Regions from separate parts of the Homo sapiens genome. Here region 2 is linked to region 1. Evidence: promoter capture Hi-C in human tissues and cell types (Jung and others, 2019). All regions are on one chromosome and are shown on one strand. The core of a region is centred on a gene start or on the middle of the fragment in contact, and the rest is flanking DNA. Distances in the headings are between cores, read along the strand shown. Region 1 holds the start of PDE3A (phosphodiesterase 3A). Region 2 overlaps PDE3A (phosphodiesterase 3A).

What was found. The method cuts DNA at HindIII sites, captures the fragments that hold promoters and counts their contacts. A contact is called where the count stands out against the background at its distance.
Region 2: a fragment that was not itself captured here is called in contact with the fragment with the promoter of PDE3A in region 1 in 1 of the 25 tissues and cell types used here (liver).

Annotation. Positions count from the first base shown.
Region 1 is chr12:20,366,475-20,370,337 of GRCh38, reverse strand. PDE3A (phosphodiesterase 3A) reads right to left here and starts at 1,801. Exons shown (of 16, transcript NM_000921.5): 1 at 94-1,801. The coding sequence starts at 1,053. PDE3A-AS1 (PDE3A antisense RNA 1) reads left to right here and starts at 82. Exons shown (of 2, transcript NR_186033.1): 1 at 82-497. RefSeq lists a silencer at 469-763. The HindIII fragment of the contact is 7,833 bases long and covers 1-3,840 here.
Region 2 is chr12:20,406,008-20,409,724 of GRCh38, reverse strand. The region is part of intron 1 of PDE3A (phosphodiesterase 3A); the gene reads right to left. Among named protein-coding and RNA genes, the nearest start is that of PDE3A-AS1, 38 kb to the right of the region's middle. The HindIII fragment of the contact is 3,857 bases long and covers 1-3,242 here.

The DNA of each region.
Region 1 (3,863 bases), core at 552-3,051:
TTTAGTTCCCAGCGCTCGGATTCTCTCCACTCTGCGCCGGTTGCCAAGTGTTTCAAGTTTCCAAGAGCCGAGAGAGGAGTTGCCAGTGCTTACCTGTTCCCTCGGTATACAGGGCAGGGAGGTCCTCCGATGGGACTTGCTGCTGCAGCCGGACATCTCGGCGGACACGACGGAGCTGGACCGCCTCCTCCTCTTAAACACCGGGATATCTTCCTTGGTCCCAGCAATCAGCTGGGACCCCAAATGCTCCCTTGGAGCCGCCTCCGCGGACTGCGGCAAGATTTGTTCCACGTACCTGGCCAAGAGGATCCCCAGCACGCCGGCCAGGTACGCCAGGTAAGGTCTCCAGGCGACCTTGAACCTCTCTAAGGAAATGAGGGACACGGTCCTGACCGCGCTAGTCAAGGCGATCATGAGGACGCCCAGCCTCAGCCTCAGCACCAGCCATGTCGCGGCGGCCAAGCAGCTGAGCACCACCCCCGCGGCGGGGAGTGAGAGTAAGTGATCCTCCCCGACGCCCAGCCCAATCTGGACGAGCGCTTCCCCCCCGCAGCAGGCGGCCAGCAGCGCGACAGCCAGAGGCAGGCGCACCCCGGCGCGCAGGAGGTACAAGCCCATCCAGAAGAAGGCACACAGGAGACTGAAGAGCAGCGCCGAGGGCTGCAGCCAGGGGCTGAGCCGCGCACCGCCCCCGGGAGCACCTCCCCGAGGCCCCGGGAAGACGCCCCCTTCTGCTCCCGGGGCTGCTTCCTCCTCCTCCGCCGCCGCCGCCTCCTTACACTGCTCCAGGTCACAGCCGACCTCCCCGCGGACCAGCCTCACCAGCAGCGCCAGCAGAAAGGACAGGGAGCCCGCGCACAGCGCGGAGGAAAGTTTCCGAGAGCTCCGGAGCGGCTGCAGCACCAGGTCTCCCCAGCAGCCACGGCAGCCCGAGTCCCGCGGCGATGCGGGGTCCGCACGATGGTGGCAGTCCCGGCCCGCCGTGGGGGCTTGACTCACCCCACTGTGGACGGGCTTGTCCCTGACTCGTGCAGCGTCGCCGGGCACTGCCATGGTATAGGGTGCCCTCTTCACTGAATTCCCAGTGGCCCCCCGACGCCCCCGCCCCGACCCACGCGCGCGCGCGCACACACACACACACACACACGCACGCACGCTCTTCCCAATTCCACCCTCGGAATCCTTCTTCTCCCCAGGCCCACAATCCACTGAAAGTTTCAGCTTTCGAATAACTCCTGGAGAATGCTAGATGCTCCAATGAGACTTCTTCAAGTTAAAGGCTAGCACGCTCAAGTTGAAAACAAGCACGGGCAGAAACGATCAGGATTCCCCTTTTCTCTCTTTGAATATCTTTCACAGATTCTCTGCTCCACCCCCACCCCCGACTTATATCCTCCGGGGTCTCTTCCTACTTCAGGATTTCAAAAATTGCCCAATGCATCCCGCGCGCAGGAGCCGCTGACGCTGGAGGAGCCGGGGGCGCAGGGCGGGCTCCGGGCCATTCCGAGGCGCAGCTCGGCGCTGCGCTGCGCTGCAGCGCGCCGGGCCCGCGGCAGATGGAGGTCTCCCTTCTCCTCCTTCCTGCAGCTCTTTTTCTATCACTCTTTCTTTCTCCTCGGCCGATTCTCCCCGGCACGGCCCCAGGACGCGAATCGCCATTCCCTGGGGCAGAAAGCAAAGCCTCCCCCGCCTCTGTCAATCCAATTCATGGCAAAGGATGGAAAAAAAAAAATGGACAAGGGGCTGAGAAATAAGAAGTTGCTAAGTCCCGTCGGAGAGAGAGCCAGACCGAGAGACTAGCGGCAGCCGCAGAAGGGAGGGAGGGAGAAGGAGCGAGTAAGAGAGGAAGGGAGGGTGAGAAGAAAGGGAGGGTGAGAAGGGAGAAGGAGATTTGCTTTTTTTTTCCCTCCCCACTTCTATTTGATGCAAGGTTGGTGGTGATTTGCAGTTTTGCAAAGGGGAAACGAGTGGCGACGACTGCTTAAAATTGTATAAAACTGGCAACTGGAGTGATCGACAATTCCGCTTTCTTTCTTTAAGGCAACTCCCTAGGAAAGCTTTCTCAGCCGAGCTCCCGCCCCCTCCTGCGGAGGAGGCGCTACCCTCAGCTCGATTGCTCCTTTGCTGGGAAAGCGGCCGGTTCACCCTACAGGCTGGAGCAGGGGCTGCTGAGGCTGATCCACCGCGCAGCCCACCGCAGCCCCGGGGTGTGGGGGGCTGCGGCTAGCCCTGAGGCTGAGCTCCCTAGAACGTTGGAAGGAAAAAAAAAAAAAAAAGATTGTGTTTGCCTACTTGGCAGATGAGAGCCAACATACTTTCTACTGTCCCTGAAAATGACAGCCACTTCTACTGTCTGATTCAAAGATGTTCCCAAGTCAGGTACAACAGCAGTCCAATTTCAGGTGACAGTGTCATCCTTTGGTCGCTCCTGCTGGAAGGTCTGCTTTATGAGAACCCAAGCCTGGCCTGTTGGTTCAAATGATGGAAGAATCAGCCTTACCTAGACCACAATAGTATAAAAAGAAAGGAAGGAGAGGCAGCAGTCATTTAAATCCAGTGCATGAGTATTACACAATAGTTTTTGACTGTGGAAAGTAAAATTACATTGAGATTAAGTGACCGTATCCTCAAAAAAGGTTAACAAAGTTTAAAAGCCCAGATAGTTCATCAAAAAATAAAGAAAAATCTCAAGGGAGAGGTGAGGATAGGTGGGTTAACACTAGGAGAGATCTTAGAAGACTGTCTATGGCTGCAAAATACTACATCTTCGAGCAAAGCATATGAAAAAAATCAGGACCTTAGTTATTAATGAGTAAAGGTTCGTGTACTGCAGCAGTGTGATATTTGAGAAACTAAAAGAAAATTTTCAAGCTAACCTTTTTTTGGCAGATTATGAAAAAGAATTCAGTATCTGTTCAATGGACTTAAACTCTATTGATGTTCCCTGGGATCTAGTTGTCTTTTTAATATGATACTCCACTTTTAACATGGCTATCTTAGATGTCATTTGCCCTCACTAATAATAATCTTAATAATCCAATTTTGTCTTAATTATCTTGACATTCCAGGTTAAAGTGTATTTACAGCCTAGAGCATTTAGATAATTGATTCAATATGCCACTGTATTTTGTATGTAGACATGAAGCAATAAAAAAAGCCAAAAGGAGATCCTTGAGATAAAATTAATTTATGGGGACAGGGGGAGAAGATGACTTAAGTTTTAAACAGCTTCATGGGAAGCAGCCTGTTCTAGTAGAAGGCAGATATACTATAAAGGTATAGCTTCTCTCTGTCAGATGTCCAGAATTGTGCTACCACACAGGAGTATGAGTTGGGCAGCTAGTCAATGGCAGTGGGCACCATCTGTTTAATAATTAAGGAAACAGGAGCAGCAATGTCTTTGCCAAAGACAAATGAGCCCCCTAGCACGCACACATACTTTCATGAGTTTCCTTTTTAGACATATGATTCATATGCCAGATCCTACCTGGGACACATCGGAGTGAAAAACCTTGATTGGAAAATCATTCATATCTGTTGGCATCAAAAATAACATATTAAAATAATAAACCAAAAATCTGGCATATATCAAGGTTAAAAAGAAAAGCATAGTAAGGGAAATTTTAGAATATTTCAATTTTATCTGTCCCCTACCCCCACAATTATCTCAGTTCTTTAGAAAATTTAATATAATATTATCATAAAAACTGAACACTTAAGGTATGGGAAGCAGATGTTTTTTAAAAGTTGTAACAGGAAAAAATGGCATTTGCTAATGGCAGCAAAACAAGAATATTCTAAATCCATGTGTTAATAACATCCTGGAACTCTTCAATAAAATAAGGAGGCAATGTCCTGGCATC
Region 2 (3,717 bases), core at 65-2,564, 40 kb before region 1:
TCTTTCATATAATGTATTTCAGTAGTGACTAAACATTTGTAACAGAAAGACTATTAAAAAATCATTATCTGGGGTAGAAGATTTATAATATCACCTCTCTGATGATATCCAACTATAATATTTCGTAAGATCACTATTTTTATTCAGCGACTTTATTTTGAAAGTATTCATTACAAGCAAAGACAACTACTTTCTTCCATCTATCAAAGATTTCACAATTTTGATCATTTCTGAAAGAAAATGTTCTCTCTACATAGTATCAAATTGTAGGTAAAAATTATTTTCTTTTTTGTCCTTAAGAAACTTAGTTCATCTTTAAATAAGAGAGCTAATAATAACAAATATATTCAAATCTGAGAAATACAGTTTTCTAGAAAGAGTTGTAGAAATGACCACAATTAATAAAAAAGAAAAAAGCTCAAATAGAATTTTAAAAAGTAAAACCTATTCAAGACTAAATATTGCTTGTGGCTTCAACCTGTGTCGCTGACTTACAAATATAACAACTATTAAGAATGTGAATACTCTATTAAATATTACTTTCAGATTCCAGATGCATCTGTCCAAGAAACTACATGAAAAGGAATTCAGGAGGAAATGAGGAGATGATGAAGAGGCTGGAGTTCTGTGCCTGCCTCCACTTCTGTCAATAGTTTGGATCAGATTTGTTTTACCATTCATTCATTGAATTTGCATGAAATTTCATTAAAAAAATTCCCATTTCCAGAAGAAAGGGAGGGAGAGAGGAAAGCGGGTAAAAAGGAAGAAGGAAAAATACACAAGCCACTCTTTTAGAGCTTTCCAGAATCCTCATTCTCAATGGATCCATCATTGCACTCAAAAACTGTGCAATCGAAATAATATATGTACACATAATTAATGTTGTCACAGAGCTTAATATTATCATGGCATTTAGAAAAGTCTGTTGAAAAACTTAAGACATGCATTAAATAAAATTAAAAGCATAAGATAGAGAACGGCAATAAATTATGTAATCACTCAGGATTATATATTTTCCTTTAAAACTTGTTTGTATGGTTTACAAAATACAAACATGGAATATTTGGGAAGAAAGCTCTGAAAGGAAAAAATGAGAACAGATGTCATGTTGAAATAATTATGTATAAATCCATTTAATCTTTGAAATAAAAATGAAAAATGACCCTTATGAAAAGAAACTCTTTAATGAACGCCATCTGCAAGTTAAAGTTAGCTTCAGTCAATTTTCTGTGAAGTGCTGTCCTTAATAATGAAGGGTTTTCTATCATTAACAGAGCCAAACAGCCATGTAAATTAAACTAGAGTATACAATATTACTAAGAATATAAAGTTTTGTAACTACAAGCTTTTATTTAAGGTATGCAGATTCCATACCAATATTTTATGTAGGAAGACTAATAACACTTGTTTAAATTTTTAACTTCAGCCATACTCTTATAGATTTCTAAAATATTAGTTATAATACATGATTTTTCTAATAAAGTTTTATTTGAAAGAAAACACATTGGCCAGGCATGGTGGCTCACGCCTGTAATCCCAACACTTTCGGGGGCTGAAGCGGGTGGATCACAAGGTCAGGAGTTCGAGACCAGCCTGACCAATAAGGTGAAACCCCATCTCTACTAAAAATACAAAAATTAGCTGGGCGTGGTGGCGCGCACCTGTAGTCCCAGCTACTTAGGATGCAGAGGCAGAATTGCTTCAACCCAGGAGGCAGACGGAGGTTGCAGTGAGCCAAGATCAAGTCACTGCACTACAGCCTGGGGGACAGAGCAACATTTAGTCTCAAAATAAATAAATAAATAAAAATAGAAAATACATTTTACTACACTTCAGTACAAGAGAAGTCTGAAACAATGACATTCAACAAAAACAAAAAAATTAATTTTTACACACTAGTTGCTTTTCTTCATGTAGTCAATATAGATATGTAATATGCTATATCTATACTATGAAAAACATATGAAAGCCAACTGGAAATAGTTTTTAAAAAAATTTATAAGTTTATAAAAAGCTAAAATTAAGTACTCCATAATCACTTAAAAATTTAATAAGCCACAAAATCTTTGTATTGGAAGGAATTGGGAATGCTGGTATATCTTCTTGCATCTACCCCATCTAATCCAATCTAATAAACTGGACCCCAAAGCACCACCAACCTCCCTCTGGGAACTTGGTAATCAGCTACAGTATATGGGAATAAAGCTTGTTTTGCTAGATTTAGAGTTACTACACTTCTACACCAAGAATACCTACATGAAGATACTTCAGACTAACTTTATTGCCTGCCTTTTTTGCCTTTCAAATAATTCAGCCATTCAATTAGAATTTATTCAGTTGTTCAATTTTTTAAAAAAAGTTTTTCATGAATAACCATGCTGAACCTAACCATGTATTTATGAGGAAAACAAAATTATATTGTGTACCTGCTATATGTTTGGCACTTTGACAGATGCTGTAAGCAAATTATCTCAAGATTAAGTAATAACATTTGGAGATAGGAAATATTGTACCCATTAAATAGAGAATGAAAAGGCACAGAGATGCTAAGTAACTTTCTCTAGATCACAGAGCCTGTAATCAACATCTATGCTGATCCCAAACTGTATAGTATACCAGTGACTTTTGCCTCCAATAAGGCAGAAAAGCAGCATAAGACAGGATGTCTATCACATAGACCAATAGAACAGAACAGAGAGCCCAGAAATAAACCTATGCACATGCGGTCACCTAATCCTTAACAAGGGCACAGAATAAACAATGGGGAAAGAATATGTCTTTAATAAATGGTGCTTGGAAAACTGTATATCCATACACACAAAAATAATATTGACTGTTATCTTAACCATACACAAAATTAGCTCAAAATGAACTAAAGACTTAAATGTAAGACCTGAAGCCATAAGACTCCTCTAATAAAACACAGAAAAAGACGTTCGTATTGGCAATGATTTTATGGGTATGACACCGAAAGCATAGGCAACAAAAGCAAAAGTAAACCAGTAGGACTCCATCAAACTAAAAGGCTTCTCCACAACAAAGGAAGTGATCAATGAAATGAAAATGCAACCTACAGAATAGGAGAAAATAACTGCACATCATACACCCAATAAGAGATTAATATCCAAAATATATCGGGAACTTATACAACAGCAAAAAATAAGTAACTTGATTTAATGGGCAAAGAACTATTTTTAAAGAAGACATACAAATGGCCAACAAGTACATGAAAAGGTGCTCAACTTCAGTAATCATCCGGGGAATGCAAATAAAAATCATAATGAGATATTCCCTCACACCTATTAGGATGGATACTACCAAAAAGATAACAAGTGTTGGCAAGGGTGTGGAAAAACGGGAACCCTTACATGCTGTTAGTGGGAATGTAATTTAGTAAACTGATTACGAAAAACAACACTGAGATTCCTCAAAAACTTAAAAACAGAACTGCCCTAAGATCCAGCAATCTCATTTATGGGTATACATGCAAAGGAAATAAAAACAGCATGTCACAGAGATATCTGCCCTCCCATGTTTATTGCAGCACTATTTACAAAGCCAAGACATTGAAACAACCTAAGTGTTCAACAATATATAAATGGATAAAGAACATGTGATGTGTGTATATGTATGTGTGTGCATACACAATGAAATACTATTCAGCCATAAAAAGGAGAAAATCCTACTATTTGCACAACATGGGTGAACCTGTAGGAT